3 separate regions of the Homo sapiens genome follow, and regions 1 and 2 are each linked to region 3. Evidence: promoter capture Hi-C in human tissues and cell types (Jung and others, 2019). All regions are on one chromosome and are shown on one strand. The core of a region is centred on a gene start or on the middle of the fragment in contact, and the rest is flanking DNA. Distances in the headings are between cores, read along the strand shown. Region 1 has its middle 33 kb from the start of BPIFA2. Region 2 overlaps BPIFB4 (BPI fold containing family B member 4). Region 3 holds the start of BPIFA3 (BPI fold containing family A member 3).

Region 1 (3,370 bases), core at 110-2,609, 83 kb before region 3:
CCCCACCTCCGTCCTGGTGTCAGCCAGAGTGACTGGTGCTCCAGGAGCCCTGCTCAGGCCTCTCAAGCCTCTGCCCACCCCTGGCCCCGGCCCCCACTTGGCCTGCCTACCTGCAACTTAAGCTTCCCTCTGCTCCTGGATCTTACTCCGGAGGCAGATGCAGGAGTCCCACCGGTCTTGGGTGGCCGGAACCACATCCTAGGTAAGGACCCTGCCCTCCCTGCTCTCAGAGCCCTGGGGAATGCGCAGGTGATGAGGAGGAAAGAGTTGGAGCCCTGGGTCCCAGTCCTGGCTTTGTCACTGACCTGCCAGGGAACCCAAGGGCCTCAATTTCCAGATCTGCAAAATGGGCACCCTCGGTCTTTTGTATATTATGTCTGTCAAACAGCCGATGCCCGACCTGAGGGAGAACCAAAGCCCACTCAGCCAGGGACCCAAACCATGTCAGCTCATGGATGTTTTGTGTTTATTTTGCTCGTCTGTGGTCCTTTTTAAGACAATGCCGTTAATTTTGGGGACAAAATTTCTTGCTCTGATAATCAAAAATAATTATTCCAGCTAGGCACAGTGACTCACGCCTGTAATCCCAGCGCTCTGGGAGGCTGAGGCAGACAGATCACCTGAGGTCAGGAGTTCGAGACCGGCCTGGACAACATGGTGAAACTCTGTGTCTACTAAAAACATAGATTGGACGGGTGTGGTGGTGGGCGACTGTAGTCCTAGATACTCCGGAGGCTGAGGCAGGAGAATTGCTTGAATCTGGGAGGTGGAGATTGCAGTGAACTGAGATTGTTCCACTGCACTCCAGCCCAGAAAACAGTGTGAGACTCCATCTCCAAAATAATAATAATAATAATTTCATCAGCGGCAGAAAATTGTAATCTGTCTAACATGACTAAGAAAAGCTCCTACCTGGGGGCAGGGACATAAGGACTCAAAGAGATGGTGCAGGAGTGCTGTGTACAGGGCCTGGCGCTTAGAAAATGTTGTCGTCATCACTCTATGGGCTCCCCCATTAGCCCCGAAGAGAACAGGGTCCCTGCTTTGCACAACTGCTTTGTGTGCACAGGTCCCAGGTGAGAAGGGAGCACCCTCACTTCCAGAAACGAGTTCATGCCCATACTCTGCAGGGGGGAAGCCGCGTGAGGAGCCATTCACGGGGGTGATGGGTAAGTTGAGTGTTTGCAAACAATAGTTGTTGTCGTTCCATTTCTCTGTCCAATTTCTGAGAAGAGAGAATTTCCGCCTACTTTGTCTGTAGGGTTCTAGAGCAGACATGGAAAGAATGCCATTGGCTGTAAAACACGCCACTCTTTTCTATGTACTAGCAAGAAAAAAAACACACTGTTACCTAAACACGTTGATGGTAAGATGCATTCTGATTTCCAAGAGAGTAAAATGAGAAAAAGATATGTCTTCAAGCCAATGAAACATGGTGTAAAAACCATGACGGGGTCATCAAGGTAATTGATACGACCTCCCAGCCCTTAAGGGGCAAGGAGTGTCCTCCTTCCCACTGTAGTCTTTCTTTTTTTCTTTATTCCATGTTTTTGTTTGTTTGTTTGTTTGTTTGTTTGAGAGACAGAGTCTTGCTCTGTCACCCAGGCTGGAGTGCAGTGTTGCCATCTCGGCTCACGGCAACCTCCGCCTCCTGGGTTCAAGCCATTCTCCTGCCTCAGCTTCCCAAGTAGCTGGGACTACAGATGTGTGCCACCACACCCAGCTAATTTTTGCATTTTTAGTAGAAACGAGGTTTCACCATATGTTGGCCAGCCTGGTCTCGAACTCCTAACCTCAGGTGATCTGCCCACCTCGGCCTCCCAAAGTGCTGGGATTAGAGGCGTGAGCCACCCTGCCCAGCCTATTCCACGTGTTTTAAATGGAGGTTTCAGTTGTATACAGTAAAAGATGCAGTAAGAAAGACAGGTTTTTGCTTATGTGTGCACCCTTGCAACCACCACCCAGATCAAGGGACAGGACTTTCCCAATACCCAGAAAGAGCCCCTTTTTGCCCCACTGCAGTCAGTACCTGCCCCCAGAGGTGACCCCTCTTCTGACCTCTATCTCTGTGGGCAAGTACTGTCTGCTCCTGAAATTCACAGAAAGAGCCATACAGTGTGAGCGATTCTGTAGCTGGCTTCTTTTGTTCAATGTCATGTCTGTGAGATCCCCCTATGTTGTTGCCTGTGTCAGCTTTCTAGCAAATTTATCTGTTTTTCTACATCACACTAAACCCGGTTCAGAATGGGTACAAAAGGGCATAGAGAGGGAAATAATAGACACTGAGGACTCCAAAAGGGGGGAATGGGGAAGGGGAGTGAGGGGGGAAAATTACCTATTGGGTACAATGTTCACTATTAGGGTGATGGGTACATTGGAAGCCTAAACTGCACCATTGCACCATTTGTCTCGAACTCTTGTCCTCAGGTGATCCACCTGCCTCGGCATCCCAAAGTGCTGGGATTACAGGCGTGAGCCACCACACCTGGTCCATTGCACCATTTGTTATGTGCAATATATCCATATAATAAACTGCACAGATAACTCCTACATCTATTTTTAATGAAAAATTAGAAAAAAAATGGAAAAATCTGGTTCAGGAACCCAGGCTTCTCCTCTCTCTTGCCCTCCCTGCTGGGGTGCACTCTGGCAGCAAACAATTCCCCCTGGCCTGTGCGTTGGCTGTGCCCAAGGCTCCCCACTCCGTCTGCAGGGTGGCCTGAGGGGATCCTGCTGGAGCCTCCATCCCTCAGCAACCTGAGGCCTGGACCCTTTCTTTCTAGCATGTGTCACCGCCCTGCATGAGGGCCACACATTCAGAGCTTCATCAGCATCCTTCAAGCGAGAGCTCAGATTTTCCCGTTCCATGTCTGCCCTCCTTATGCCCCACATGGGCAAGATCTGCCCTAGCTTGCTGTTCTCCAATCCCAAGCATGCTGGGCCCACCTTCCTCCTCCACCCATCTCACTCAGTCCTAGGCCTGGGTTTGCTTGAGCTCTCAAACTGGCAGTCCCAGGGATGTGTGCGGGTGTGTGTGTGCACACGAGAGAGACAAAGTGTATTTAAACAATTTTACAATTTTGAATTAGTTTATAGTGTTTTAAAACCAAGAGCTTTAATGCCTCCTCTTGACAAGTTGTTGTTGACTGTGTGCTATGATTCAGGCCCCTTTTCAGAGGCTGGGAATACAGAAGTCAACAAAACAAGGACATGGCCAAAAAGAAACTGACATTTTACAGGTGTTTGCATTAGAATAATAAAAAAAATTCCTGCTTCTCCTAATAATGGAACATTTCATCCAGAATGGGTACACATATCCTACCTGGCAACAGTAAGAATGGATCCCAGATCAGTGGTGACCTGTTGACCA
Region 2 (3,160 bases), core at 574-3,073, 110 kb before region 3:
TGGGCAACTTTGATGTAAGTACCATGTTTAGTTCCCAGGGCAAGATCTTCTGGGAAGGAGCCCAGGACGTGTCTTCCGGGAATGGTGTTCCTGTGAGGCTGGCTGGGCATGGGGAGTTTGTGAATTCCAAAGTGCTCCCGTCAACACTATCAGCCCTCATTTTGCAGATGGACAGATGTAGAAACTGAGGCCCACAAGGCAAGTGAGGGGCAGAGGACAGACTCACAGCTCCTTCTACTCTGCCTCGGGTGCTGTCCCATGTTAACTGGCTGCCCCATGGGGGGCCACTTGGCCCAAATCGCTCCATTTCAGGGTGGGGAGGCACAGTGGGCAGCCTTGTCCTACAGGACCACTTTCCTTCTGGAGTTAGGAGCCCACTGACTCCTGTGTGACCTTGAGCGATATCAACCCACTCTGAGCCTCAGTTTCCCCATCTGTAAAATGAATACAATTTGAGTTCATTTCTAACCTCCCTTCTTGCCCCTGGGTTGTGGAATTCTGCTTTTCCAAGGGTCCAGAAATCTGAGATGCTCACATTCTAGCGTTGGGTCCTGTTTTATCTCTTTGTTCACTCTTGGGTGCCCCACCCCCACCTAAGGCTTCAGAAACACTCCTTCCTCCCCACCCCCCCACCTCCGCTTTTTATAAATTGACAACTAAGCATCTGCTAGCTTTCTGGGACAAGCTTGGATGAGATCTCCACATGTGCAGAAAAAGTCAAACCCATTCATTGTGTTGCTAATTTTATAGCTTTTCTAACCCAAAAAGCTACAGCCTGTGAAGCCGATCTTGCCAGCTTCATTTTATAAGGATAAACTGCCCAAGGCTTCCCAGCTGGTTGGGGCAGAGTTGGGATTAGAACTGAAATCTCTGGACTCCAAGTGAAGAAAGGGGCTGACAGTGTAAAATTAATGAATTAATGAAGCTATCGAGATGGGCCCTAGGCACTGAATTATGCTTTTTTTTCTCTTTTAATGAGGTTTTCTCATTTAATCCTTACCACCGTGTTATGATTTGGGTATTATTATTACACCCATTCTTCCAAATAAGGAAGGTAAGCTCAAGTGACTTGCCCAAGGCAACAGAGCTAGGAAGAGGCACTGCCGGAAAGTGAGTCCATGCCCTCACCCTCTGCAGACTGGAACATCAGGCATGTTACATATAGGGGCTTATGTCTGATTTTTATAACCACCCTATGAGGCAAGGGTTACTCACTCCTGTTTTCAGATGTGGAAACCAAGGCTTAGAGAAGTTAAGGGAGGTAACATATGAAAAGGCTCAAGGCCAGGAGTTTTACGTGATCTACCCACCATCCTCACCGCATCCTTGCAAACTCAGCTCACTGACCCATTTTACAGCTGAGGAAGCTGAGGGTTAGAGAGGTGAAGGAGCCTGCCCAGAGGCCCACGGAGACTGAGCTGGGATGGGAACCTGGGGTGTTGGCTCCAGGGCCATTGGGACTTCTGTGATGCCATGACAGTGCCATCGGGGCCAGGCCACCCTGAAACCTGTGCTCTGTGCCTCCCAGGGGAGGAACTAGGCCTCCCTCAATCCCTGCTTCATAGGGGCCTTGGGCCACCACCCATGCTGGGCCTCAGTCTGCCCATCTGCACAATGTGCAAGTTGATGGGGGGCACCTTAAGGCTGCCGGTGAGAAATTCTGGGGTCTCAGGGGTTCTGACTGCCAGAACCTAGACTCTCCCAGAGCAGGTCTGTGTCTCCACCTTGAGCCAGGGGAGCAGACCCAAGGGGCCCTCTGGAGCTGAGCAAACCCCCTGCCCAGGCTCTGTCCTCCTTCTTCCTCTGCAGATTGGCCTCATGGAGGTGCTGGTGGAGAAGATTTTTGACCTGGCATTCATGCCCGCAATGAACGGTGAGAGCGGGTGCCTGTGCCTCTCTGGGAGCTTGTGGCTTGGGTACTGGGGGATACTGGCTTGTTGGGCATGCTGGATGTGCATCTATCCTACCTCAATAGTATTTCTGAGCACTTCCTTTGAAGCGTGTCGATGAAAGCCTCCAAATCCAAACGTGGCCCCCAAAGTTCCAGCACCTTCCTTATTTGCTTCTTTCTTGTTTGGCTGATTGTTTTATTTTTCTGATTATCTATGAAAATTCCGATTATGTATTAACATTGTGTGTGTGCAAGTTTTAGAAAATATAAAACAATTTAAAAAAAACTCACCTCGCAGAGGCAATGAATCTCAACATCTGAGCATATTTCCTTCTAAACTCTTTTTCTCCATTGTTTTCCCATATGATTGAGATCTTTCCTGACTCATATTTAAACATGTATTTATTTTTAATGATACAGGAACTACAGGAATACATTCTTATTGTGAAAAGTTCCATTGGCGCAGATACAGCTAAAGTTGCTCTTATCGACATCCCCAGCCTCCTTCCTAGCCCAGAATCTGCCCCCCTAGGGAACCACATCAAGTTAGGAGGTTTTCTTGCCCAACTTTATAAACAGAGTAGACTGAGCTTGCTTTGCTCTCTGGGGCGTCTCAGGAATGTTACTGGGAAGGCTGCTTGTTGAACTATGGGGGTCATTGGCTACTCACATACTGGGACTGGGAAACTGCCCAAGCCCTGGGGTCACTGGGCCCCAGACTCTCTCCCACTCCTGCTTCCTGGATGAGAAGACAAGGAGGGCTGGCACATCCCAGCCAATGTCATCAGCTACACCAGCGGGGGTTCTGTTGGAGCCATCTTGATGTCAAACAAACCCTTGTTCTGGGCCCTGTGGTCAGAGGAAGCCGAGTCTCACTGGTGGGGAAAGTGGTGGTTTCTCTGTGAGAGGATGGGGTCAGGGGCTGGGCTGGGCTGACCTGGGAGGGAAGAGACGGAGCGTCTTGCCTGGCTTAATCACTAAGAGTGGTGTGAACTTGGGGGCGAGTCTTTTAATCATACTGAAGTGCAATTCACCATTTTCAAAATGAGAGCTTGGACAAGGTCCATAGTCCCCAAAGTGAGCTCCGTAAAGCAGTCCCACAAAATACCCTGCAAAAAGCGTTCCATGGCCGAGCAAGTTTGGGAAGTGCTGAAGATACTCCTGCAGGGTAGATTCACAATGTCCTTAGCTTTTTGAAAAGTCCTGCTGGAATAGAGAAGTCTGTTAAATTTCACTTAATTTACTTCCCCCATCCACTCTTTCCTACCC
Region 3 (3,065 bases), core at 355-2,854:
AAGGACCTCAAACAGGGAAAGCCAACACCCTGAACCAAGGCTTTCTCAGTACAATCTCTTACAAAACCAGAGTGAATTGCCCAAGAATAGCCCCAAGGCTTCTGTGAAATTTGCAAAGGACGTTCCCATCCCTCATCCACATGGGACCCTCTATGTCGCCCGTAGTATGGGGAAACAGCACAGGGACAGTGACAAACGCCTTTGTCTCAGAGCTCACAGCAATGGCAAGGTGGGGCCCAGACATCCGAGACCTGTGCTGCTGCAGTGGAGTGGGGAAGAGAGAGCTGCAGGCAGTGCGGTCCAAGAGGATGCAGGGACCCTCCTGGGCCTGGGAGGTGTTGCATGGAATGTGGCTTTTGCTCTGTGTGCAGTAGGAAATGCTGGAGGGTTTTGAGCAGAGGAGTGGCATGGTGGTCTACCTTACATCTTTTTTTTTTTTTTTTTTTGAGTTGGAGTCTTGCTCTGTTGCCAGGCTAGAGTGCAGTGTAGTGTGATCTCAGCTCACTGCAACCTCTGCCTCCTGGGTTCAAGTGATTCTGCTGCCTCAGCCTCACAAGTAGCTGGGACTACAGGCATGTGCCACCACACCCAGCTAATTTTTTGTATTTTTAGTAGAGACGGGGTTTCACCATGTTGGCCAGGCTGGTCTTGAACTCCTGACCTCATGATACGCCTGCTTCGGCCTCCCAAAGTGCTGGGATTACAGGCATGAGCCACCGCACCCGGCCTACCTTACATCTTAAAATGACTGTTCAGGCTGCTGTGTGGAAGAGATTGTGGGTGGGCACAGTTAAAAGCTGGGAAACCAGCCGGGACCCACTGGCAATAATTCAGATCAAGCTGATGGTGGCTGAGGAGTAGTTGTTATATGTGGTCATGTTCTGGAAGTGTCAGCAGGATCTCCTGACAGATGGGTTGTGGGAGATGGGAAAAGGGGAGGAAAGGGCAGCTCCACCGGCTGGGAGTAGAACAACTAGATGGACTTGGCACCATTTCCTAAGAGTGAGGACAGGGGACTTAAACTGAATTCTCTCTGAATCCCAACCCCAGGGCTCCAAGGTCAACCTGATGCTTTGGCTTCAAGAGTCTGTAATTCTTATCCAGAAAGATAAGATCCATCCATCCAGTTATTCATTCATTTGTAGCATTAACAAACATTCACCAGTACTTACCATGTGGCAAACATGGGAGGCACTGTAGACATGAGGATTAATTAGACTCATACCCTGCCCTCAAGAAACTCATAATTCAGAGGAGATTCAGAGATCAACCATCTCCACTCATCAATTCAGTCGTTTGGTCACTCAACAAACATTCATTAACACTCAATTTCTGACAAGCAAGTATCGTGGTAGGGATTGAAGTGGTTGGTCATGCCCTTAAGAAAGTCCTAACCCAATTGGAGAGCCTGGGGTTAGCCATCCTCACTCAAATGTATTCATTCATTGGTTCACTAAAGAGTCACTAACATCCAGCCTGTGCCAGGGTCTGGGAGAGGACTCCTGTTGGATGACCCAACAATAGACTCTGGTGAGTGTCTCCAAGCAACAAGGCCTCCCTCTGGAGCCCTGGCCTCCTCCCAGGGTTCCACATGTTGCTCTCCCAATGTGAGCAAGCCCTGGTGGCAGCGCCAGGGTCCAGTGCAGCCCCTCCCCACAGCATGCTGGGGGCTAATTCTGATGTCATCTTTCTGCAGAAAACCATTAGACCATCCCTCCAGACTGCCACCCTCAAAGCCGTCTGCCCAGGCCCCATCTGACACTCTTGACATCTGCAGGTCCCAGACCCTATGATGTGTCCACTCTGGAGGCTCCTCATCTTCCTCGGGTTGCTGGCCTTGCCCTTGGCACCACACAAGCAGCCTTGGCCTGGCCTGGCCCAAGCCCACAGAGACAACAAATCCACCCTGGCAAGAAGTAAGCTAAGCCCCGGGCTCTGCCTGCTGCCTACGGGGCTGGGGAGGTGGGAAGGTGCCATCTGGGCTCCACTGCTAACCCGCTGGGTGACTTCAGGTTAGTCACTTTCCCTCTTCTCTTTTTCTTAGACCTCAAGTACAGAAAATTGAGGTTGTGTTGATCATATGCCAATTTCTAGCACATCCTCATTGGCACAAATCACTGCAAGGTCCCCCTTTTGTTTTATTTTCTTATTTTCCCCCTTTATGACTTATTCTCACCCCATATCCCTACTGCCTTGGCAGGCATTGCAGCGTGTTTAATGGATGTACTTAAATATGCCTGTGTCCTTGTATGTACAGTACTTTAATTTACATAAATTGTATTGTACTTTAATTTACATAAATTGTATAGTGTTGGGTTTCACTCAGCACTATGCTGTTGACATCTATGTTGCTTCAGCTGGTGCAGAAAGAGCCATAAGATTCATCCACCTCAGTTTATTTGGCTGCTCCCCTCTGGATGGACATGCAGGTTGTCTCTAACTCTCCATGATTATAAACTACACTGAGATGAACCTCCTTGCAAGTGTCCCTGTTACAGCCTGTGGGAGAATTTCCCTGGGATAAACCCAGAAGGAGAGTGGTTGGGTCCTGGGGTAGAGGTGAACTCAATTTAACCAAAACTGCCAGAATCCTCTCTAGAATGGCTGTGTGGTCTACACGTGCTCCAGTAAGAAATGAGCATACCTGTCTCCCCATGTTCCCCAGCACTGCCGAGTACTGAGCTGTATCAGTCAGCTAGGGCTGTCCTCACAAGACACCACAGACTGGGAATTAAACAACACACATTCATTTTCTCACAGTTCTGGAGGCTGGAAGTCCAAGATCAAGATGCAAATAGGGTTGGTTTCTGGTGAGGCCTGTCTTGCTGGCTTGCAGACGGACACCTTCTCGATGTCTCCATACAGCCTTTTCTCTGTGCATGCAGAGAAAGAGATCTGTTTCTTCTTATAAGGACACCAATCCCATCAGTTTAGGGCCATACCCTAATGACCTCGTTTAACCTTAATTAGCTCTTTAAAGGCCCTATCTCCAAAGACAGTCGCACTGGGGGAGGAGAGGGCACAATTTGATCTATGACACTATTTTTCTACTTTTTTTTTTTTGC

Evidence for each region. The method cuts DNA at HindIII sites, captures the fragments that hold promoters and counts their contacts. A contact is called where the count stands out against the background at its distance.
Region 1: a fragment that was not itself captured here is called in contact with the fragment with the promoter of BPIFA3 in region 3 in 2 of the 25 tissues and cell types used here (H1 embryonic stem cells and pancreas).
Region 2: a contact is called between a fragment that was not itself captured here and the fragment with the promoter of BPIFA3 in region 3, in 3 of the 25 tissues and cell types used here (H1 embryonic stem cells, lymphoblastoid cells and neural progenitor cells).

What each region holds. Positions count from the first base shown.
Region 1 is chr20:33,133,410-33,136,779 of GRCh38, forward strand. No RefSeq gene overlaps it. Among named protein-coding and RNA genes, the nearest start is that of BPIFA2, 33 kb to the right of the region's middle. The HindIII fragment of the contact is 6,794 bases long and covers 1-3,370 here.
Region 2 is chr20:33,103,001-33,106,160 of GRCh38, forward strand. BPIFB4 (BPI fold containing family B member 4) reads left to right here. Exons shown (of 18, transcript NM_182519.3): 15 at 1-14; 16 at 1,810-1,873. Among named protein-coding and RNA genes, the nearest start is that of BPIFB4, 25 kb to the left of the region's middle. The HindIII fragment of the contact is 8,468 bases long and covers 1-3,160 here.
Region 3 is chr20:33,215,748-33,218,812 of GRCh38, forward strand. It overlaps BPIFA3 (BPI fold containing family A member 3), which reads left to right and starts at 1,605. Exons shown (of 7, transcript NM_178466.5): 1 at 1,605-1,916. The coding sequence starts at 1,790. The HindIII fragment of the contact is 14,641 bases long and covers 1-3,065 here.